7 separate regions of the Homo sapiens genome follow, and regions 1, 2, 3, 4, 5 and 6 are each linked to region 7. The links are contacts of gene promoters, found by promoter capture Hi-C in blood cells and fetal thymus (Javierre and others, 2016). All regions are on one chromosome and are shown on one strand. The core of a region is centred on a gene start or on the middle of the fragment in contact, and the rest is flanking DNA. Distances in the headings are between cores, read along the strand shown. Region 1 has its middle 37 kb from the start of ZAP70. Region 2 overlaps TMEM131 (transmembrane protein 131). Region 3 overlaps ZAP70 (zeta chain of T cell receptor associated protein kinase 70). Region 4 overlaps TMEM131 (transmembrane protein 131). Region 5 overlaps TSGA10 (testis specific 10). Region 6 holds the start of MITD1 (microtubule interacting and trafficking domain containing 1). Region 7 holds the start of INPP4A (inositol polyphosphate-4-phosphatase type I A).

What was found. The method cuts DNA at HindIII sites, captures the fragments that hold promoters and counts their contacts. A CHiCAGO score of 5 or more calls a contact.
Region 1: a fragment that was not itself captured here is called in contact with the fragment with the promoter of INPP4A in region 7 in 1 of 17 cell types (monocytes); the score reaches 6.9 in monocytes.
Region 2: a fragment that was not itself captured here is called in contact with the fragment with the promoter of INPP4A in region 7 in 1 of 17 cell types (naive CD8 T cells); the score reaches 6.0 in naive CD8 T cells.
Region 3: a contact is called between a fragment that was not itself captured here and the fragment with the promoter of INPP4A in region 7, in 1 of 17 cell types (M1 macrophages). The highest score is 5.3, in M1 macrophages.
Region 4: a fragment that was not itself captured here is called in contact with the fragment with the promoter of INPP4A in region 7 in 1 of 17 cell types (M1 macrophages); the score reaches 5.9 in M1 macrophages.
Region 5: a contact is called between a fragment that was not itself captured here and the fragment with the promoter of INPP4A in region 7, in 1 of 17 cell types (naive CD4 T cells). The highest score is 6.3, in naive CD4 T cells.
Region 6: a fragment that was not itself captured here is called in contact with the fragment with the promoter of INPP4A in region 7 in 2 of 17 cell types (naive CD4 T cells and naive CD8 T cells); the score reaches 6.9 in naive CD4 T cells.

The regions. Positions count from the first base shown.
Region 1 is chr2:97,748,965-97,752,347 of GRCh38, forward strand. It overlaps a transcript of ZAP70 not described here. Among named protein-coding and RNA genes, the nearest start is that of ZAP70, 37 kb to the left of the region's middle. The HindIII fragment of the contact is 568 bases long and covers 1,848-2,415 here.
Region 2 is chr2:97,805,418-97,808,514 of GRCh38, forward strand. It overlaps TMEM131 (transmembrane protein 131), which reads right to left. Exons shown (of 41, transcript NM_015348.2): 20 at 134-286; 21 at 1-34. Among named protein-coding and RNA genes, the nearest start is that of ZAP70, 93 kb to the left of the region's middle. The HindIII fragment of the contact is 615 bases long and covers 1,200-1,814 here.
Region 3 is chr2:97,723,253-97,726,384 of GRCh38, forward strand. It overlaps ZAP70 (zeta chain of T cell receptor associated protein kinase 70), which reads left to right. Exons shown (of 14, transcript NM_001079.4): 3 at 764-1,186; 4 at 1,840-2,000. The coding sequence starts at 785. Among named protein-coding and RNA genes, the nearest start is that of ZAP70, 11 kb to the left of the region's middle. RefSeq lists an enhancer at 1,021-1,611. The HindIII fragment of the contact is 4,563 bases long and covers 1-3,132 here.
Region 4 is chr2:97,768,489-97,771,675 of GRCh38, forward strand. All of the region lies in intron 33 of TMEM131 (transmembrane protein 131), which reads right to left. Among named protein-coding and RNA genes, the nearest start is that of ZAP70, 57 kb to the left of the region's middle. RefSeq lists enhancers at 1,626-2,139, 2,140-2,652. The HindIII fragment of the contact is 528 bases long and covers 1,510-2,037 here.
Region 5 is chr2:99,069,644-99,072,941 of GRCh38, forward strand. It overlaps TSGA10 (testis specific 10), which reads right to left. Exons shown (of 21, transcript NM_025244.4): 14 at 2,063-2,231. Among named protein-coding and RNA genes, the nearest start is that of C2orf15, 70 kb to the right of the region's middle. The HindIII fragment of the contact is 887 bases long and covers 951-1,837 here.
Region 6 is chr2:99,178,758-99,181,888 of GRCh38, forward strand. It overlaps MITD1 (microtubule interacting and trafficking domain containing 1), which reads right to left and starts at 2,301. Exons shown (of 7, transcript NM_138798.3): 1 at 2,074-2,301. The coding sequence starts at 2,224. It overlaps MRPL30 (mitochondrial ribosomal protein L30), which reads left to right and starts at 2,427. Exons shown (of 6, transcript NM_145212.4): 1 at 2,427-2,492. RefSeq lists enhancers at 1,969-2,108, 2,119-2,348, 2,369-2,418 and a silencer at 2,636-2,808. The HindIII fragment of the contact is 610 bases long and covers 1,196-1,805 here.
Region 7 is chr2:98,443,464-98,446,736 of GRCh38, forward strand. It overlaps INPP4A (inositol polyphosphate-4-phosphatase type I A), which reads left to right and starts at 1,395. Exons shown (of 25, transcript NM_001134225.2): 1 at 1,395-1,622. RefSeq lists a silencer at 1,225-1,864. The HindIII fragment of the contact is 7,361 bases long and covers 1-3,273 here.

The DNA of each region.
Region 1 (3,383 bases), core at 882-3,381, 690 kb before region 7:
TGTAGAGGGAGTATTGCTTACAGTGGATGTGACACTTCCCTTTTTTTTTTTTTTTTTTTTTTTGAGACGGAGTCTCGCTCTGTCGCCCAGGCTGGAGTGCAGTGGCGCAATCTCGGCTCACTGCAAGCTCCGCCTCCCGGGTTCACGACATTCTCCTGCCTCAGCCTCCCGAGTAGCTGAGACTACAGGCGCCCGCCACCAAGCCCGGCTAATTTTTTGTATTTTTAGTAGAGACGGGGTTTCACCGTGTTAGCCAGGATGGTCTCGATCTCCTGACCTCGGGATCCGCCTGCCTCGGCCTCCCAAAGTGCTAGGATTGCAGGCATGAGGCACCGCGCCCGGCTGACACTTCCTATTTTTACAAAAGGCACAGACTAATAGCACGCATAGTGCGCTGTCTGTGTGGGAAAGGAGGGAGATGGGAGTGCTTTTCCCAAAAGGACGTTTATAGAGCAGGGACAAGGGAATGATGGCAATAGGTCTTTCTAGGCAGCAGCAAGCCCTGCTGGCTTTGGAGTTCCGGGTGGGCAATGACTGTCAGGGGTCAGGTCTGTGAGAGTTGCTAGGAGCATGCATTCTGCAGAAGCGGGAGGGGACTGACGGCAAAGGAATTAAGTTACAGAAGGATCCTGAATGCATGAAAATTTGCAGCCCCACATTGCCTTAACTGGAAAAGGAGGTGGTGCTTTGTGGGCATAGGAATCTGATGCAGCCTCCTCTCCCTGCTGCAAAATATCTGGCTGGGAGGAATGGTCCAAATCCAGTCCCTCTAAGAACCTTGTCCCTGGACATGCTGCCGCAGTTCTGCTGAGAGGCGGGGCTGAGGCAAACGGGAGCCCAGGCTGGCGGTGGACCCAGTGGTGAGGGTGGGAGGGATGAGGGCGTGGGAGGAGGGGCCCCAGGCAGTGGCAAGGAGCTCAGGAGGCTCCAGATTGGTGGCCTCATGCCCCCTGCCAAATGAGTTCCATCCCCATCAGGAAGTTGCCATTTCTAGGGGTTTAACACTGGGAAATGTCTTTGGAATACCACAGTAACAGACAATAGGAAGTGCTACCACTTATTTATTTGGCCTCATGTTTCACACCATCCTCCTGAGGATGTTTGTTTTGCATATAGGGAAACTGAGGCTCTGAGAGGGGCAGAGTGTGCCCAAGGGCCATGATCAGTAAATGGCAGAGCCAGGACTGGAACCCAGGCCACACTCATCCATGCCACTGCACTCATGTGTACACCCAAATGGTCAACGCCCTTCCCCGCAGTGCAGCAGCAACGCACCGCAGTTAAAGCAGCTGGGCTTGTTGCTCCCTGCAGCAAGGGGGACCCAAACAACAGTGAGCTGGGGTGTCTCCTAAGAGGGTGTCAGGAAGTAGCAATTGTAGGATGTGGGCCTTGGTTATTAGCTTATTTGGGGGGTGGGTCTATGGAGTCAGGGGTTTGCTCTGGAGTGGAGGCTGGCTCAAGAGTGTCTAATGAACGCAGTCTATAGTTACACCAGAGTTAACAGTTTTTTCCTGTCTGTTGTAAAGCGAGTTGTTGAATCGCATGATGAAAGAAATGGTGTGCAGTACCATCTAAAACTCTAGACAGGAGATACTAGCCAACCATTTACAGGTAATTACGAGAAACGCAAGGACTGTTAGTCCTCGTAACAGGTCTGCAAGACAAGGGCCTAGAGCGCCTCCAGGTAATGGGCGCATGTTCCAGAAGCCAGCTGGGTTGGCTTTAGAGGTCAAGGCTTTTTCTAATAGTCACAAACTGTCCTGTTCCCCTGTGGTGTTTTTCTAGGTATAAAAAAGGAGTATTTGTTATGGCATGACCTGTCCCTTTGCTGGCTAAGAGGAAAATAAAGCTTATATGACTGTCCTTGATAACTCTAAAGAATGGACTTAGATTAGTCGGTTGGACTTTCAGAGCAGAGTGGTCTCGTTTATGGCTTCAGCTAAAATTACCAACTAGTTTTGAACTCTCTCTCTAGTCGTTTTATTCCTTTGGTGGGAACTGGAGTTTGCAGAGTATGCATGAAGAGCAAATCAAGGATCGCTACTGGAAGGTTTTGGAATCATCTATGATAATTTTACGCTGGATTGCTGGGTATTCTTTCAAAGAATGGATTACTGGAGACGTGGGTGTTGTAAATATCTGAACATATCTAACCACTCTGAATATACATGAGTGTGTGGCAGACCAATATAAGCCTGACATGGGCTAATAAGATGTAGTGTCCCACTGAAGCACAGATCGTATGGGGAGCATATTATTATAATAGCAATAAATTTCGTGTCTTTGTGTGCCTTTTGTACAGAAGCTGTAGATCACGTAGAGGCGGGTGTGTTTTGGATATACTGTATAGTTCATATTTATGTTGAGATAAAGCTGGAAATAAAATGTAATCATGTAGAATCTAAGATGGGATGAAGCTTCAAACTGTATACAGTGGCATGTTATGAATTCATAAGAAGCAACATGGGACCTAGAGGTGGTTGATCGTATAATGCTAATGGTAATTTCTTAAGATGTAGAATTTTGGAGGTTTCTGAGAGGTATGCTATTTTTAAAAAAATTCCATTAGTTCTGTTTTTCTAGAGGACTGGAGAAAACAAGGACAGTGAAATCTCTGGATTAAAGGCACAACTTCAGTGTTTCTTAATAACAGTATGTCTTAGTCCCTTTGTGTTGCTGTAAAGGAACACCTGAGGCTGAGTAATGTGTGAAGAGGTTTATTTGGCTCAGGGTTCTGCAGGCTGTAGAGGCAGCAGCATTGGCTTCTGCTGAGGGCCTTGGGCTGGGTGCACTCCTGGTGGAGGTGAAGGAGAGCCCCGTGCAGACCACACGGTGAGAAAGGGAGGAAGAGGGAGGTGGGGGAAGGTGCCAAGCTCTTTTCAACAACTAGTTCTTGTGGGCACTAAGGGTGAGCACTTAGTCCCATGAGAATGGCACCAAGCCATTCACGAGGGCTCCATCCCCTCCACCAAGCCCCACCTTCCACACTGGGGATCATATTTCAACAAGAGACTCAGCAGGGCCAAACAAACCACAGCATTGGTCTGGAAAAAGGAGTATCTCTGTCATTAGAAGTAAGTGGGGATTTTCCAGGTTGGAAAACAAAATCAAGCACTTTTTGTCACTCTGGCAGGGAAATTTTCAATCCACAGTGAATATAAACAAACAATAACCAGAATGTATTTATAATCCACGGCAGAAGGCATTTGTATGGAGTCTACTTGGAGGGGTCTGAAGGGCCTTCAAGCTCTCCAGTTCCTGCTCACGTCTACATTTAAATGTTTTATCAGGATTTCATTCACAGGGGGATGTTTTGTAACCATTATTGGCAATACCTCTAAAATTACCTGGCTTAATTAATATTGTTGCCAATTTATTTTTAC
Region 2 (3,097 bases), core at 257-2,756, 640 kb before region 7:
ACTGTAGTCCAGGATCAAAATAAATGTTTGCAATCTATAAAGAGGCACAGGAGAACCATGAATCCCAAATCCACAGGAGGTCATAAAACAAAATGTTAACCAATGGGAATTCTCAAATATAATATCTTCAAACCTTTGATTTTTTTCCTGGCTCCAAGTCTTCCTTATTGCCCCGTAATCGTTTATAGTAAAATCGCACATCTTCTGACAAAGATCGTATTTGCTGTATTTTTACCTTCTGTGAGAAGGAATTCATAATATTTAAACTTTGATGAACTATTTTCCCCTGAAGGAAGAAAGCAAAGAACAAACTCATTTGTATATGGTTAAATTTTCTTAAGATCACAAGTTTCAGAGTAGACAAGCATACTTCTAGGAAACCAAAGCCCAAAAGACATCTTAGAATGTTCATCAATTGATAATCTTTAAATTGTAATCAACAGCCAAAAAACCTCACCAAAAAACTTTTTTTTCTTGCTGTGGCATGTTACAGAAAAATCAGGAGGACAAATCTTTGCAATCTTGTGACAACTGATTGACGTTAACATTCACACTTTCATGTTAAGATACTGAGGATGCCAACAAAGGTACAAACAGAGATAGCTTTAGATAAAGGGAATGGTTACTTTCAGTTTGGTAAGCAAGGTTTGTTTACACCCAGGCAAGAATGCCCTGAAATCACTGAATTCTAAAATCTAAAGCCAAAGGGGACAAAATCACAATTTTTTTTAAAAGAAAGTCTCTTCATTAGGAAAAATATATGTCATTTGTATCAAAGAGAAATTACACATCTTTTGAAATTATGGGTTGTCAAGTATCTTATTAAAACAGTACACAAGCTGGGCACAGTGGCTCATGCCTGTAATCCCAGCACTTTGGGAGGCTAAGGTGGGTGGATCACTTGAGGCCAGGAGTTCGAGACCAGCCAGGCCAACATGGTGAAACCCTGTTCCTGCTAAAAATACACACGAAAAATTAGCAGGCATGGTGGCACACACCTGTAGTCCCAGCTACTGGGGAGGCTGAGGCAGGAGAATCACTTGAACTCGGGAAGCGGAGGCTGCAGTGAGCCGAGATCGTACCACGGCACTCCAGCCTGGGTGACAGAGTGAGACTCCATCTCAAACAAACAAACAAACAAAAACCCCAGCACACAAATAAAACTGTTAAATAACCAGCAATTGCTCTTACCAGTCACAAGCTTCTGTCTGTGACAGGGTACCAAATTTTAAATTAAAAAATTAAATAATTTACGTAATCCTCCAGAAGAATATTACAATCTTTCTTTTGGCTGAATACAAAATTTTACTTTTTGTAGATTCCTACTCATTTGAAGAGGTCTCTGAAATGATTAAACCCACTTTTTAAATATTTGGAATAAAAAATACAGAAGTGAAGAGCGTGCACAGGAAAAAGGGCGCAATGACTGTGACACTGAGGCCAGCGCTCCTCATTTACAGCCCAGTGAGGCTAAAACACCCGACAGCCAGCAGAGGGCGGGCATGCAGCTGCAATGCCGACAGGAGCCCTCGGGCAGTCACCGCACTTGGCGTACTTGAAATAACTACTTCCCTCGTGCCTTGTCTCTTGGGGGTGTGGGGGATCAAAAGAGCTCACAGATATAAATGCTGCTCTCACAATTCTATTCAAATATTAAGCTATGAGTTACATGAAATGTTTATTCTGAGGTATTGTTTCCAGTAAGCTCTAGTATTCTCCATCTGATAAAGAGATTGACAGGATTTGGTAATATAGAGGTAATTTAGAATTCCAAGCAAGTATCTGGTCCTGTAAGCCTCCTAGAGATATCTGAAAGCTTAATCTGAAGCAGTTCAAAACCAACCCCTCTAAATCTCATGCTGAAATGTGATCCCCAGTGTTGGAGGTGGGGCCCTATGGAAGGTGTCTGGGCCACAGGGGTGGATCCCTCATGAATGGCTTGGTGCGTTCTGACCTCGTAGTAATGAGTTCTCATGCCATTAGTTCACACAACCACTGGTTGTTAAAAAAGAGCCTGGCACCTCCCTCTCTTCTCTCTTGCCATGTGATCTTTGCACATGCCAGCTCCTCTTTGCCTTCCAATATGAGTGGAAGCAGCCTAAGGCCCTCACCAATGCAGACACTGGGGCCATGCTTCCTGCACAGTCTCCAGAACTGTGAACCAAATACACCTCTTTTTTAAAAATAAATCACCCAGCCTCAGGGATTCCTTTATAGCAACACAAATGGATCCAGACCAACATCTTGTTTTTATACACATGCTTTCTCATTTATTCCACTCATGGGGCTTTTCACTGTGTCATCTGCTGTCTTCTGAACTGAACTTTTCCCTGCCAGAGTTTACGCAGAGATTAAGGACATCATTGATTGAGAAGGTAATGGAAGGAAGAAACATGGCTCTTTTGGATAAATAACGAAGAGTTTAGTATAGTCAGTACAAAGTGGAATGACAGGAAGATGAGGATTTAATTAAGACCCAAACTTAAATGTGATGAAACTAGTAATTCAAAGTTTGTATTTTTAAGGAGTTAAATATTGAATTCAGGTTTTACTGTAAGGGTTGAGTATCCCTTATTTAAAATGCTTGGGGCCAGAAGTGTTTTAGATTTTTTTTTTGGAATATTTACATATATATAATGAGATATCTTGGGGACAGAACCCAAGTCTAAACATGAAATTCATTTATGTTTCATATACATTTATATGCATAGCCTGAAGGTAATTTTATACAACATTTAAAATAATTTTGTGCATGAAGCAAAGTTTTGACTGGAACCTGTTACAAGAGGTCAGGTGTAGAATTTTCCACTTGTGGTCTCAAAATGTTTCAGATTTGGGAACATTTTGGATTTCAGATTTTTGGGTTAGGGATGCTCAACTTGCATACAGCATTAAGATTTTGCAATGTCTTGTTTCTCTTAACCCACTACTGTCTCCTACCACTAGGATGTGAGACACTTTTACATCTGCCCTGGTATTCCTGAATGGACTGCACCATCTTCTTGCAAAAGGCAGCATCTTCTCCTGGTTTTCTCATTTGTTTTGTCTTTGTTCTCCAGGCTCAAACTCTAAGCCATATTCCTGCCTCCTCTACCCA
Region 3 (3,132 bases), core at 299-2,798, 720 kb before region 7:
AAACTTGCCAAGGAAGGCAGAGGGCAGGGCGAGGGGTGCCTGCTAAGGCCGAGGGGAAAGGGTCAGCGGAAGGGACAAGGGAGGCTGAGGGGTAGGGCCCTTGGGTGAGCAAAGCTGGGTGCGGCCTCAGGGCCTCTGCGCATGCAGTCCTCTCTGCCTGATGCGCTGTCCCGCGCGCTTTTTGAAAAGTTGGCTCCTCCTCCTTCAGCTCTCCCTTCAAATGCTAGCTCCTTGGAGAAGGTGACCATCCTAGCTAGAGCCACCTCTTCTCTCTCTTAATGTCACTCCACTTATTTCCTTTGTAATGCTGACCTCAATCTGTAATTATTATTTTTGTTTCTTTCTCAGTTTATCTCACGGCTCTCCCTCCTTAGAGTGTTGCCTTCGGGAGGACGGGGTGGGACCGCGCCTGCCTCAAGCGTGCATATCCCCAGCACCGGGCCTGAAACACAATAATTCAGCACGTGGTTGGGACATGAAGAGATGGGTACAGGTGTGGGTGCTTGGGGACCAGTTGGCGTGCTTGGGCGTCCACATAATGTCTCTGGAAAGTCAGATGGGGGTTTGGGACTTCTCGATCTGTGCCCAGCAGGCTGCGGCTTCTCTCCAGGTTGACTCTGGCACAGAGCAGGCTCTGCCCCCTTGGCGAGCTCAGTCTGCGGCACTGATGCCCTCCACTTGGCGTCTCTCGCGCCGTCTTTGGGCCCAACGCACCAGGTTCAGGAAGGCCCTGACGTGCCTCCGACCCTCTGTGAACCCGCAGGTTTCGGGAGGCCCAGGGGCGATGCCAGACCCCGCGGCGCACCTGCCCTTCTTCTACGGCAGCATCTCGCGTGCCGAGGCCGAGGAGCACCTGAAGCTGGCGGGCATGGCGGACGGGCTCTTCCTGCTGCGCCAGTGCCTGCGCTCGCTGGGCGGCTATGTGCTGTCGCTCGTGCACGATGTGCGCTTCCACCACTTTCCCATCGAGCGCCAGCTCAACGGCACCTACGCCATTGCCGGCGGCAAAGCGCACTGTGGACCGGCAGAGCTCTGCGAGTTCTACTCGCGCGACCCCGACGGGCTGCCCTGCAACCTGCGCAAGCCGTGCAACCGGCCGTCGGGCCTCGAGCCGCAGCCGGGGGTCTTCGACTGCCTGCGAGACGCCATGGTGCGTGACTACGTGCGCCAGACGTGGAAGCTGGAGGTGAGAGCGCAGCCTGGGGCGCGGGGTCTGGAGGGGCGTGGCCGAAGAGGGGCAGTCGAGGGTTTTGGGGGGATAGGAGGGAGGAAAAGGTCGTCTTCCCCATTCAGTCCCCTTTGGAAGCTGGAGAGGTGGGGCACTGGTTGGGGAAGAACCTGAAAGGAGGCCTCAGAGGCAGGGGCTCCGTGGTGGCGGTCGCCTTCCGCAGGCTGAGCGATGCTATGGTGCTCTACTATGCCAGATGGGAAGGTAGAGGGACGCACTGGGCCGGGCGAAGGCGAGGCTTGGAATGGGGGCGGGGCTGAGAGGAGGGTGCGCGGGGCTAGGGTGAGCCCTTAGGGTAGGGTGGCTGTTGGGGAAGATGGGCAGTAGTCGTCCACAGCCTGAGTGACACCACCATGCACAACTACCTGAATTAGGTCTTCAAGCTGGAGATGCGCTTGGGGCCGCGCTGGAAGGTGGGGGTGGTTCCTCCCTAGCTGGATTGGGGAGGGGACCACGGAGATGGCGCGGAGGTAGTCCTCGAAAACCTGCCTAACACGCGCTAGGGACGCCTGGGTGGGGTGGGGAGTCCTCTGGGACAGGGCTCCCGGAAGGGGGTTCCTGTGGCGAGCACTTGGCCACACCTACAGACCTCCTCGCCTCTCCTTTTCTAGGGCGAGGCCCTGGAGCAGGCCATCATCAGCCAGGCCCCGCAGGTGGAGAAGCTCATTGCTACGACGGCCCACGAGCGGATGCCCTGGTACCACAGCAGCCTGACGCGTGAGGAGGCCGAGCGCAAACTTTACTCTGGGGCGCAGACCGACGGCAAGTTCCTGTATGTGGGGCCCGGGATTTGGGTGCGGTGAGGATTGGGGCTCGTTGGCAGGGATCCTGGGGACTGGGGCAGACGTGAGTGTGCAGTTGGGCCGTAAGGGTGTCCCTGTGCTCACATGTGCAAGTGGGTTGTGTGTTTCTGATGTGCAAAGGGACTTGCACATGGGGAAGTAGAGGTAGTGACTAGGAAAGCCTCCAGACTCGGTCCCTTGGCCTGGCTTGGAATCCCGCTTCCGCCACCTGCTGGCTGTGGCCCTTGGGCAAGTAGCGGACTGTGGTTGCCTGCCTCAGTTTCCCCTCCTTCAATCAACAAATATTTACTGAATACCTACTGTGTACCAGGCACTGAGCACACGGCAGTGAGCCAAAAAGACACAGTGCCTGTCCTCATGGGGCAGGTAGACAAGAAAAGGAATCAATAAAATAGAGACCCTGTCAGATGGTGGTAAGCGCCGTGTGTGCAGGTGGGGAGGCGGTTGCAATTTTAGATTAGGTGGTCAGAAGAGGCCTTCCTGAGAAGGTGACTTCTGAGGAAGGGAAAGAAGCTGAGGAGTGAGCTGTGCAGCTTTCAGGGGGAAGGGTGTTCCTGGAAAATGCAATGGCAAGTGCAAAGATCAGGAGGCAGGAGTCTATTTGGCGTGTTCCAGAAACATTGTGGAGGCCATGTGCCTGGAGCTGAGTAAGTGAGGGGGAGAATGGGAGGAGGTGAGGGCAGGGCGGGGACTTTAGCTTTTCCCCCAAGTGAGGTGGGATCCCCGGGAGAGTGTTGAAGCAGCCCCCTCTAACTGTCCTGTGGTTGACAGCAGTACCTCCCCTCAGGATCCTCTATGAGGATTACATGAATTAATACGTGTGAATCGAGAGTATGGTAACTGACATAGGAAAAATGCGGTAAATGTTAGCTTTTATATGTGGGTGAACGTGCGTGTCTGAGCCACAGCTGAGGCCATGTAGCTATTTGTGAGTTTGTTAATGTGAAAAAAATCTCTGAAAATCTCTTTTTAAAACTCTGCTGAGTGTTTGACAGCCCTGCTGGGGCTGTTGCTCTCTGGTTTGGACACGGGATCTTTTCTGTAACAGATGGTATCCAGGTGCAGCTGAGGTCACTCAGGCCTCAAGACACAGATAAATTG
Region 4 (3,187 bases), core at 524-3,023, 670 kb before region 7:
TTATTTTTGCTGATTCATACTTTCCTAAATTAAGCCAGATGATCTCTATCAAGAATCCTTTTTTAAGGCTTCTGAATAAAATGGGTAACGGCCAACTTAATTGAAGCGATTCATTTTTTTGAGACAGAGTCTCACTCTGTCACCCAGGCTGGAGTGCAGTGGCACGATCTTGGCTCACTGTAACCTCTGCCTCCCAGGCTCAAGCAATTCTCCTGCCTCAGCCTCCTGAGTAGCTGGGATTACAGGTGTGTGCCACCATGCTTGGTTAATTTTTGTATTTTTAACAGAGATGGGGTTTCACGATGTTGGTGAGGCTGGTCTCGAAGTCCTGACCTCCGGTGATCTGCCGTCCTTGGCCTCCCAAAGTGCTGGGATTACAGTGGGATTACAGGTGTGAGCCACCGTGCCCAGACTGAAGTGATTCTTTTTAAAAAGGAAAAACAGGTGGTTCAGATGCCAGGCTTTATTTATTTATTTACTGACAGGGTCTCAGTCTGTTGCTCAGGCTAGAGTGCAGTGGTGCAATCACGGCTCTCTGCAGTCTCTAACTCCTGGGCTCAACTCCTGAGTCTCTAACTCCTGGGCTCTATGCAGTCTCTAACTCCTGCCTCAGCCTCCCTAGTAGTTGGGACTACAGGTGTGTGCCATCACACCTGGCTAATTTAAAAGAAAAACTTTTTGTAAGATAAGGTCTTGCTATATTTTCCAGGCTGATCTTGAACTCCTGGGCTCAAGCAATCCTCCTGCCTTGACCTCCCAAAGTGCTGGGATTATAGATGTGAGCTACCACACCTGGCTTATTTTTATAATATATTTTCCTCCATTTTTTAATAATAATGTTTTTCTTTTTCTTAATATTCTGAGATTTCGTATTCTTTTTATTTTTGCTTTTCACAACGTTACACCTGACTCAAGCCTGGCCTATTTTTATTCCTGTAATACACAGTACACATTTCTGTCTGGGGAGGAGAGAGGCAGAGCTGAGGACACAGCTAGGGACATGACCAGCTGTGGAGCAGGGTTTTCTGAGTGCTGACAGGTCTGGGGCTGGCGTGTGCAGTGTGGTGTTCACAGCCCTTGGGCCTGAGTTGAGAGTGTTATTTAAGCAGATTTTTACAGATAATATGATTAATCTACTTCTTTTGCTTATTTTAGATTATTACATTTATGTAAACATATACTGTTGATAAACAAATAGAAAAACAAAAGGATCAGTGAATACTCAGGGTCCTAAACCAGGGATGCCCTGGGCCCTTCCTGGTTCTGCAGAAACCTTCAGTGCCTGAGATCTGATTCCCATTCCTTGGCATCTCTGCCATAGACTACAGTTTTCCGGAGGTCTGCAGGCCCATTTCTATGTTGCCACAGCTGGAAAACACGGTTAGATCAGATTTCTGTTGCTGCAGCCCCACCCTCCTATTTCCTAGCAAGTGATTTTTTTGAGGTCAACTCTTGGGAGTGTGGATGGATGGGGCTGAGCCACTCCTCTGGCTTTATCACCTCTCACAAAGCTTCCGAAAGACAGCAATGATATATGCCTTATTAATGACATATCTTATTAAAAGATGTGTACCTGTCCTTCAGACATGTGGGGTTATATATTAACACACTAAAAGGTGACAGGAATTTCAGGAATCACTAAAGCTAGTACTGGCTGTGATTCTGAGTGACAGTGTTTGACATTTATTATCAGAATGCAGTGGAGTCACAGAATGGCTCTGTTCAGAAAGCCAACCTTCTCCGGTTATTAAAAAAACCAGTCTTTATTTGATTAAATGATTGATGAACTAATAAATTCTGACTCAATACTTTCATCCTCGAGTTCAGAAAAACAAGAGATCAGTGAGTTTAAAGAGATCAGATAAAGGAGGATAGAAGAAAGGTTGCATATAGATTTCTCCAGTTACAAAAGACAGTTTCAAGCACACGGCTTGATTTGTGTTCTGGTAATGATTTATCTTTTAACTACATATTGAGAGAGCACCGGTTATTGCTATAACTGCCCCTTGACTAGGCGGTTCAGGACTGACCACTCTAAGCTTTTTGGTTTACAAGAGAACTAAAAACCCTTGCAAAGGTAATGACACTCAAGCGACGTCTTTGACTAACTTTTCAAATGCAAATTTGCTGATGGTCAACTTGTAAAAAAAATCAGAATACAATGTAAGTCAGTGGAACAGGGATGGGGGTTAGGATTAGTGTGTTCTATCTGCTTAACAATACTAAGCTCAGGCCTGAGGGCTAATCAACAGGGCCAATTTGGTGACAGTCACCTATGGAATGGTACCTCTAAGATAATTCTTAGATGCACTGGTTTTAAAATTTATCATCATAGGAATTACTGCATGTCTGTCTACCTCACAAGATTTCTGCAAATGTAAAAATGAGGATTTTCATTATTTGGACTTATTAGCCTCATTTACTTTAAAATATCTGATCACTCACCTAAGCCTGAAAAAGGCCAAGAAGAAGAATCTCTAGCTAGTAGCCCAGTGTTATTCCTGTCCTGGGTGCCAGGATATTGGTGTCTCAGGTGGATTTCTCTCAGGAGAGATCCAAGTATGTGAACCTCCTCTTCAGAAGAGGTGGTCTCCTTTTCTCTCTCCCCTTCAAATGATCAACCACCTGATACCACTCTGCTTGACGTTCCTTCTACCTGGGCCAGACTGCTCTCAACAAATTGTGGGACCTGGTCACTTGAACTAACAATTGCCACAAAAGAGTAAATTTTAGGTACAAATACTTCATTACTAAGCACCACCATATACTGTATTATTTCATAAATTCAGGGACAAGGTTAAATTTTACTGCAGTTATCACTAATTTCTTACTAGCTTTTGGGTTCTATAGAACAGGACTGGCCCTGCCTGAAGCCATATAATCTAGGGACAGAGTCTAGGTTAGTGGTGTTTTTGCAAAACTCAAGTATGATTCCCAGGATCAGAGTAAGAATAGACCTTCCACAAATCTATGGCCCACACTTATGATGACAGACAAGCCATGTCTTCCTTTTAAATTTACACCTAATTTATTCGACTTCCTCTGTCACTTTCTACTGATCACAACCCACAAGCGGGTAGACAGCAGCTCCCGTGCTGATGACAGTTCTATACAATGAACCAGGAAAGGTATTACTGATGCACCAACACTAAAATTATCAGGTAGATGCTGAGCCAAGGTTTAATGA
Region 5 (3,298 bases), core at 144-2,643, 630 kb after region 7:
AATAAATAAATAAATAAATAATAATTAAAAAGAAACCTGATAATCTGTGATTCACTCTGAAATGAAATCTAATAAAATTTAATGAGATGCTGTCATTAAGGCATTTGTTACAGTGACAATATTTATTCACATTAAGTGAATCATGCAGTAAATAATAGTATATCTACATAGTGGCATAACCACATAATGGAATATTACATACCTGTGAGAAATGTTTGGAATGATTTTTAATAATACAGGGAAATATTTGCCTATGTTAAGTGAAAAAAAAATCGTGCTAAAACACAAAAATACCTCATTATCCCAATTTGTTAAAAATTGTGGTATCAAGGATAAATTTTTTTTAAGTTTCCACTTTCTCGTCTTCTGCAATACTGGTTCTTAACCTGTGGTCCACAGAGAGAGACCTCTCTTCTACCTTGGGCCTATGACCATAACGAAGAAAAAACTACTTTTGAGCATATGTAAATTGTTATGACAACAGTTTTCTTCTGATTATAAAAAATGTTTACAAAGTTTGAACAAGGCAGGAAAATGCTTACAATATTATAGTAAGCTAATAATAGCTATAAAATATTTATTGAGTGATATACTGGACAGTACAGTAAGTGCTTTCCAGGTATAGTCTCACTTATTAACCATTTTTACAGATGCTACAGAGACTCAGAGAAGTTGGTTTATATGATCACACACGCAGAGAGCAAGATTCAACCCATGTGAATCTTACTCGACTCTACTGCCTCTTCATGTAGAAAAAAGCATGATCTAAAGTGATAGGTGATTTTATCCCACTACATTAGAAAATGTGTATAAAAATAGTGTTAAAATTTTTAAGTGCACTGTATAGCAATTAAAAAAATATGTCAAATATAACAGTAACTGAGTATCAAAAACATGGGGGCTTTTCTAAACTCTTAACTTTTTGTTTAGAAAAAAGACTTTCTATAATAAGCTTCTATTTCTAAACCAATCAAAAAAATAGAAACTAAATTTCTAGGTTTTCATAAATAAGATATATCCACCTTTAGCCCATATGCTCTAGCTGTAAAGAGTACACAAAGGCAAACCTTACAAATTCCCATGTTTTGGTTTTTATTGCTATTCATTAATTTTTTAAATAAACTTTTAGAATAGTTTTAGATTTACAGAAAAGTTGTGAAGACATTATAAAGGGCACCTCTATTGTTAACATTTTACATTAGTATGGTGCATATGTCACAATTAATAAGCCAATATTGACACATTATTATCTGAAGTCCATACTTTATTCAGATTTCTTTCCTTTTTTACATAATGTCCTTTTTCTATTCCAGGATCCCATTATTCATTTACTTTTAAACAAAATACTTTAACATCTCAGATAATTTTTTATGATTAACAAAGTATTACAGCTTTATAGCTGTTTAAGTAAATTAATAATCTTCAACAGTTAAAGAACACAGACTTTCAGGATGCAAACTAAACACACTGAAAGTGATACAAAGTGGGGAAAACCATTTGGTCTTAAAAATTTTGAGAAGGGAAGAAATTTTCCAAATAGGATTTTTAAATGTTCACGTTAAAATAAATGTTATTGGAAATGAGAACTGCAGATTAGACTTAAATATATTGCCTTAGGGAGAAAGAGTAATTATAAGAGGAACTTTCCTAAAAAGAATCACAGTGCTAATGAGAACCAAAAAACAAGGCACAGTCCATACATTCATACTTAAAACAGAATAATATGTAGTCCATTTTTTTAAAAAAAAAACACCTATTCTTTTCTTTAAGGTTTCTCAAGGTTTTTATTCTCATTTTTTGATTATTCAAATATTTATCCTTCAGCAAGGAAGTACTAAGCTTTAATACAAATATAGCCCTGTTCTCTCTTTTCTTTAATATTTAACCCTTTGTGTCTGAGAATTCCATTTAAAAATTATGTGGCCTATTTTGTTATTTTTTAAAAAAAAGAAAAGGCTAGTTCCAGTGTCTGAGCTCTTCTATAAAATAAAATGAGGGCTGTTCCTCACAAGAAATTCATATTTTTTTTTCTTGGAGAAAATGATTCTAGGAACAAGTGTACCTGGTTTTCTTGTTTAGCTTTAGCAAACTGTTCCTGGAGATTGTCATTGTCATGAGCCAAGATATCTCTTTCCCTGGCGATCTGGGCCAGCTCATCATTTGTCTCATCCAATTGCCGACGCATTCTGGAAACGTCTTGTTCACACACAATTAGGGCCTCAGTACACTGTCTATTCCACAAATCAAAGAGTACATAAGAAGAGACATTTTACTGAAACAGAGCAACAAATTCTCACAAGACAGAAGATGGACAGTTAGTATGAAAACATTTGAAGAGATTTTAAACACGTTTGAATTTATAGGAATAAATACTGCAAAGACAGTGCATTAGAGTTTCTCAATGTTGCCATCATTTCGCTATGAAAAGGATACAAAGTATACATAATAGTCAATGATTTGCCAAATATTTCAAAACTTCTTACATCAAGTATTAGGAAGGCTTTCATCCTACTTCTGTTATGGCTTAGTCTCCTTTACAGATTCCTCTTCCTCTGCCCACTTAAAAATTAATGCTTTTCAGGGCTCAAGCCCTAGCCTCCCAATTATTCTCACTCTAACCCTTCTCTCAGACAAACTCTATTCATATCCATGGTTCCCAACCCCATCTAGATCCAATGACTCCAAAATAATTATCTCCAGTTTTAGACCCTCTGTTATACTCCAGACTTATATTTAACTGCTTACTAGACATGTCTACAATAAGGTCCCAAAGGTTCTTCAAATTCAGAGGTAAAATCATTTTTTCTCCTCATACTTTCTTCATGTTCAGTATTTGTCCCTGGCCAGAAACTTGGCATTTTCCTGGTGTCTCTCCCTCATACAAAAGCATTTCACTCCTTCTGTCCCACAACTCCTAAACCCCAATTTATCACCACCTCTTCTGCTTAGGTATCTTTCTAACACAAAATTCTCCTCAGAATTCTTTAATGATTTCTTATTGCCCAAAGGATATAACCAATACTCATTTGTCTGTTACACAAGCCTCTGCCTGCCTATTTAGTCTCCTCCCTTCACTTCTCCCCTTACACTCTAGGTTTCAACAACACTCACCCACTTGTAGGTCAAGAGGCTTGTCAACATGATCTGTGGTTCTTTGCTATTCTTTCTACTTTAAATGCCCTTCCCTTCCCCTTATTTTACTTGGCAAACACCATCCCCTCTTTTAGTTCCTTAGACAGACTTAGGCCTCCTTTGATGAGAGAGTTAGCACCTTACACGTATCATTAAGCCCCTTGTT
Region 6 (3,131 bases), core at 251-2,750, 740 kb after region 7:
TTACTCCTTTGTAAAAACCTTAAATGGTTTCTCCTTGCCTGTGGAATAAGTTAAAATCTCCTGGTAGTCAAGGCCATCCTCAATGTGATCCAAGCCCCTATCTACCTTTAAACTTTACTTCTCACTCTTCCTCTTCAGATACATGCTCAACCAAACTACTTATTTCGTAAGACAGCACAGGAATTTGAAGACTCTTAGATGAATTTCTGACTTCTGAAATTATTTTTCCTCCAAAGCCCCAATCAAACTCCACCTCTACCTTTCCACCCTCACATGACCTTTAACTGTTTAAATCCTCATTGCGTTTATCTATAGATATCTCTCTCCTGGCACTTATTCCCTGTATTAGCGCTATTTGCATTTTGGTCTTAACCCATCTATGTGACATCATTGTCTCTGTAACCTCTACGGGATCAGTGAAGCACCCTAGAGCAGAACTGTGATTCTCCTGCTTCAGATTCCTAGTGCAGCCAAAACTTGAGCAGTGTTCCACCTGACCAACACAGTACACCATCTCTCTTTTGGGATTCAGTATACCAGAGTCGTTGGGGCCTTGGGCTCCGACTGTGACTCTACCACCTCCTAGTGGCAGAACTTGAAAGCGAACAATACTTTTTATGCTGTAAAACGAGAATACCATCAACTCCTACTTGATAGGGCAATTGGTACGGATGAAACGAGATCATGCTTTTAATGTTTTCTGCAATGCCTGGCACTCAGCACTGAAACGTGATATCTATGCTTATTGCTGTTGTCACTGTCATCATTATCATCAAATAATGCCCCAGGCAAGGTAGAGTTTACAGTTATTTTTTCTTTTTTTTGAGACGGAGTCTTGTTCTATTGGCAGACTGGAGTGCAGTGGCGCGATCTCGGCTCACTGCAACCTCCGCCTCCCGGATTCAAGCAATTCTCCTGCCTCAGCCTCCCAAGTGGCTGGGACTACAGGTGCGTGCCACCATGCCCGGCTAATTTTTGTATTTTCAGTAGAGACGGGGTTTCACCATGTTGGCCAGGATGGTCTCGATCTCTTGACCTCATGATCCACCTGCCTCGGCCTCCCAAAAAAGTGCTGGGATTACAGGAGTGAGCCACCGCGCCCGGCCGGTAGAGTTTGTAGTTCTGACCAAAGCACCAAACCATAAAGGGCTCCCCTCTGCTGCCCCAAAGCTTCTGTAACACTTTAATTATAAGAAGCTTAAACTAGAAAGAACAGAGGGAGCTTAGTCCAGACCGGGAGTGTCGGGGGTTGGGGAGCAGGAGCTGATCTTATCAATTTAATACATAAATATTGAGTGTCTACTGTGAGCCAGGGTTGTGCTGGGTGTTAAGGAATATTTGGGTATTTCTCAACATTGAATAATACGAAAAGTCTCACTTGTCTCCTCCACAACCCTGCGCATTTCTCACACCGAACCTCATCCGTTTAAGAAAAACTTTTCTTCTTCTACCGCTACATAATTTTACTTTGGCTTGCTTTAAATGCAAATGTTTAAACAGAAAATTAAAAATAATCGTATAATAAACACCCTTATTACCCATCACCGAAATTTTTAAAATTAGCATTTTTGCTCAAATAGAGCTTCGATTTTTAAGAAATTTTTGCTTAAGGAAAATTAACTAAAGACATCATAGCATCTCTTTCTAAAACACTTTGGTCTGCATCTCTAAAAATTAAGGAAAGTTTTGGAAAAAAAATCATATTGCCTAAGAAAATAATTTTAATGCCCCCCAATCTATATTCAAACTTTTCTAATAGATCCAAAAATGTCTTTTAAAGTTCGTACAAACCCAGGTCCTATCAAAGCTTATATATTACATTGCGTTATATCTTATATCTCTTAAGTCTTTTAAAATCTAGACTAGTAGCCTCCCCACCTTTTCTAGGTAACATCAATCTATTAAAGATCTAAAAGAAAGCGGCCCAGTTGTCCTATAGAATATCCCACCTTCTGTATTTAACTGCTTCTTCGTGGTGTGGAAAAATCATTTTTAACTCTTTCACTTCACCCCAGACACAGCAGGAACCAGCTCCTTTTCCTCAGGTCCTCCCCGCCTTGGCTCATTGCTCACCTTTCAGAACCTGCAGGAGCAGATCAATCCCCTCTTGGTAACACACCAGAGCCTGCGGATACCGCGACTCCGAATCTAGTTCTACTGCCCGCTTTAGCACAGTGGCTGCAGCTGTGCTCTGCGGGTCCTGCCTCAGCCCGGACTTCGCCATAATTCTGGAAGTTCTCCTCCGCCTCAACCCAGGATGAAGTTGAGCGGGTCTGCTGCGCTTCCGGGAAGTGGTCATGTGATACCCAGGCGCCTGCGCTCTCTTTCTAGGGACTTTCCTGAGTGGGAGGGATTTCGCCGGAACAAAAATGCCTCAGTTTGGAGGTCGCGCTCACTGCGACGGCAGGCTTTGAGTGTAGCACTTGGTAGTTCTTCCTCTGCTCTGCTTCCCTTCGGAGGAAAATTTCAGGCTGAAGGTTTAGCGGGTGCCGGTGAGTGGGGAATGAGTGGCGGAGAGTGCGGCATTCTTCGCAAGGTGTATCCGGGAACCCTCTGCAGATCCTAATTGATTTTCCCTATTGCGTACTGAATTGGCCGGTTACGGCAACCTAAATGGGTCTGCCCCTGATCCCGTCACATTGGCTCCCGTAAGGCCATTGGCCTGCAGGATCCCCCCGTTTCCCAATTTGCAGGATCCAGGGCCACGCGGCTTTTTGTGCCCAGACTCTTGGAGCTCAAGAACGGAGCCGCCGAGGCTGGACAGCTTGGGAAAGGGAACCCAAGCAGCATTTTCTGTGCTGCTGCTTTATTCATAACTTAGGGTTGCCACTGGGTATTAAGGTTGCTTTTTTTTTTTTTTAATGAAGACAGAAAATTGCCTTTATCTTTGTATTGCTTCATTTTATAATGCAAACATCCAAGAGTTGGCAGTTAGAATATTTGCCATTTTATTAAAACTGTGATTTGTTACCATTTTGATCGAGACCTACCAAAAGCTGTTTGTTCTGCCCTTTTTGCCAAGAGGCAGTAATGAGGGCTGCCTACTGCTTGTTAGGCACTAGGAGTTCAGAGAAGAGACACGCTTCCAGCTTTCAGAGATCTCTGGTATCTCTGCAAGAGTGATTCCATGT
Region 7 (3,273 bases), core at 145-2,644:
ATTTGAGAGTGAAAGAGGGCCCTATTAATAATTTTGCTGCAAAAAGATGTAAACTGGGGCTGTTCCAAGCAAACTAATTGGTCACAGTAATTAAAAAAAATGCAAAAATATTTTTGCATTTCTACAAATTTGATTTTCTTGGCTTTAACTTTGTACTGTGGAGTCAAGGTTCTGTCAATATTTCTTTCCATTTAGCTGGAGAAATAATAAGAGGGAACTGTTTTATTACTAAGTTACTTTTCAGAAGAGAAATAAAATAAAAAGTAAAGAAATAAAAATTTAAAACTAGGACATTTTCTTTTTCTTTTTTCTTTTCTTTTCTTTTCTTTTTTTTTTTTTTTTTTTTAGAGATACAGGGTGTTGCTCTGTCTCCCAGGCTGACACTGCAGCCTCAAATTCCTCTGCTCAATCGATGCTCCTGCCTCAGGCTCCCCAAAAAACTCGTTTTATATTTGTTTATTTTTATTCCAGACTATTGTCTGTATTTTGGTGACATGAGGAGGATCAGACATAATTCTAAATGAGTTCAGAGAATTCTTAATTTCCATTCCTAACTGGTTAATCTCTTTTGTTTTTGAAGCAAATTATATGTTTAAATGCTCTGCCTGAGAAGTATTCTGGTTTATTGAATTAAAATCATTTTAAGAATTTTTTTTTCGGATAAAATGTGAAGACTCAAAGATAAGGATACATTCAGTCCAGTATTTGCCCTTGCTCAAGGAGAAATGCTGTTTTAAAGTCAAAGTGAAAATTTTCTTCCAAAACTTCTGATTATTGTTTTTGTCTATGGAAAAATAGAAACTTGGGGCAAAGTGTAAGGACTGATGCTGTTGCAAGTCTGTTAGTGCACACTTATGCACACAGGCCAGAACAGGTCCGGAAGGACATACACTTAGAGGTTAGCAATTTTCTTTTTTTTGCAAGTCTGTATTTTCAAAGAATTAAGATTTTAATTTTTTGCTTGTCTGGTTGGAATGTTCAGTTTCCTAAACATCTCCTGGGGAGTGAGTACGTCTGCACTTCAGGAAGTGCTCTTGTCCGGAGGGCAAAAGGTTGGGGGCGCATCCCCGGGTCGCGGCTCCTCCAGGAAACTTTCCCTTGGGGATCCGTCAGGGCCTCAGATGCCTCAGTGGATGACAGGGTGAAGATGCCATCGCTCAGTCAAGTCCAGAAGTTCAAGAACTCCTTGCAGGTGAAGCAGTCACAGGATAGGGTGGGATCTTGTGGGAACCTAGCAGTAGGAATTGGCGCGAGCAGCTCGGTCACCGGCCCTACTGTCTCAGAGGGCGGACCCAGCTCGGGCTGGTAGTGGGGCGGGGGTCGCAGGGCGCGGGCCGGGCCCTCAGCGCGCATGCGCGACAAGGGGGCGGGGCCAGGGCGGGGCTGCGCCCGGCGTCTAGAGCGGCGGCGGCTGGCTAGGGCTGCGGCGCGCGTGGAGGGTTCGCTGCTGGTTTGCCGCCGGGTCGGGCTCCGTGGGCCGGGGCAGGAGGACCAGCACCTGAGGCCGGGCCCGCAGCCCGCGACTTCACAGCCAGGCGGCGGCGCTGCTGCTGCTGCGGGGCTCTGGCGCGCAGCCCGGCGGGACAGCGGGGCGGCTGGCGCCGGGGGCCGGGGAGCGCCAGGTAGGTGGGCCGGGCCGGGCAGGAGGCGACGCGGCCGCCGCGGGGGCCGGGGCCGGGGACGGACAGCGGGCGCGGGGGCGCGTCCAGGTCCCCGCTGGGGCGGATGTGGACGGCGCCCGCGGTTTTCATGGAAATTGCACTGCCTAACGGTGCCAGTGGTCCACCTGCGGTGGCGTCTTTTGAGAACAATCCGAGCCCGGCCGACCCCCAGCCCCGTGAAGACGCGGCCGCCCCAGCAGGGAGCCGGGTGCCGAGCGGGCGCGTGGCCGCGGGACGCAGACGCGGTGCCTGCCCGATGCGGCTCCAGGGCTGGGTCTACGGGCTCCTGAAGCTGGAGGCCTTGCCGTGTTTGGGGTGGAAACATAACCGGGTGAAAGTAAACATGCATCTCCGTGTGGGAAATCTGGTCTCCATCCTCGAAACTCTTCCATTTTCTGCCTGCCTTTAGACCCCGACAACATTTCTAGCATCTTTGCTTTCTATATTTTATTTCTCTCTGGCTTTGCTAGTCAATTAATTGAGGCCTGAGAAATGTGCAGGGATCTGTGGCTGTCTCTTGAAAAGCCAGCCAGGAATGGGTAGGCCCCAGAAGACAGACGTTCAAAATGTCAGAGGTAAATTTGTGTCTTTGTGGGCGAAGGAAGGGAATGTTGATGGTCTCGCTTCCCTTCCCCTGTCGCCTGCCCTCTGACATTACATAATGATGGGTTCTTCCTGCCCCGAGTTCATCCGTAATGACAGACCATGAAAATGTTCCTCTGGGTAAGAAAGACCTATATGTGGTAGAGCCCATCTTCTCTTTTGCTTTGCCACTGAATGTGTCTTGTGTTGGGAACCTGCCTAAGAGTGGAATTTGATTTGTCGCCTGCCCCTCAGGGCATTTAAACCAAGGGAATGGGGGTGGGGTGGCGATTTGGGTGTTGCAGAGAAATTCTGACTGGTCCATCTGTTCACAGTGGGTTGTGTGGACCATGGGGAAGCCAGTGGGGTTGAGGACAGAGTGGGTTGACTTCGGTGTGAATCATGGTTCTGCCGCTTGCTGACTCTGGTTCTTATCTCTAAAAGGTGAGAGCAGAGCCTTTTTTGCTGAGTTTGTTTTGGAATCTAGCTGCTGTTGGCGTTGGCCAGTGCACGTAGAATTGCTTGCTATAGGTTGTCCTAGAATTGAGCCTAATTTTTCTTTGGTTGAAAAACACACTTTCTTTAACGGAAATTTTGTTTTTGGATCTAGGCTAGGGCATTTGTTTTGGGGGTTCTTTGCTGAAGTGTCGACTGCTAATGTACTGTTTTCTTTGAAGAAAGATGAATGATGGGGCCCATGTAAGAAGGGCAGTGTGGTTGGTCTGTTGCAGGAGTGGTGCCAGGAGGCCGTGATGCTGTCTGTCCCAGGGGTGGCGTTGCATGTGAACGGGCCTCTCGGTGCCTCATTCCCTGTGATGTCTAGTAAACACGCCTGTGAAGCCAGAGCTGCTTGGTAGAGTTTGGCTTGAAGAAAAGGCTTAAAGAAATGGATGTGGACAAATTCAAAGAGAAAGAAACATTGTGTTTCTACTGAGCTCCTTATAGAATTAGTCTGCTTACCTGGCCACCTTACTCATCATGTAGCTACTTTTTTCATTTAGATTATTCTGTCTCAGGGTGTTTAATCTGC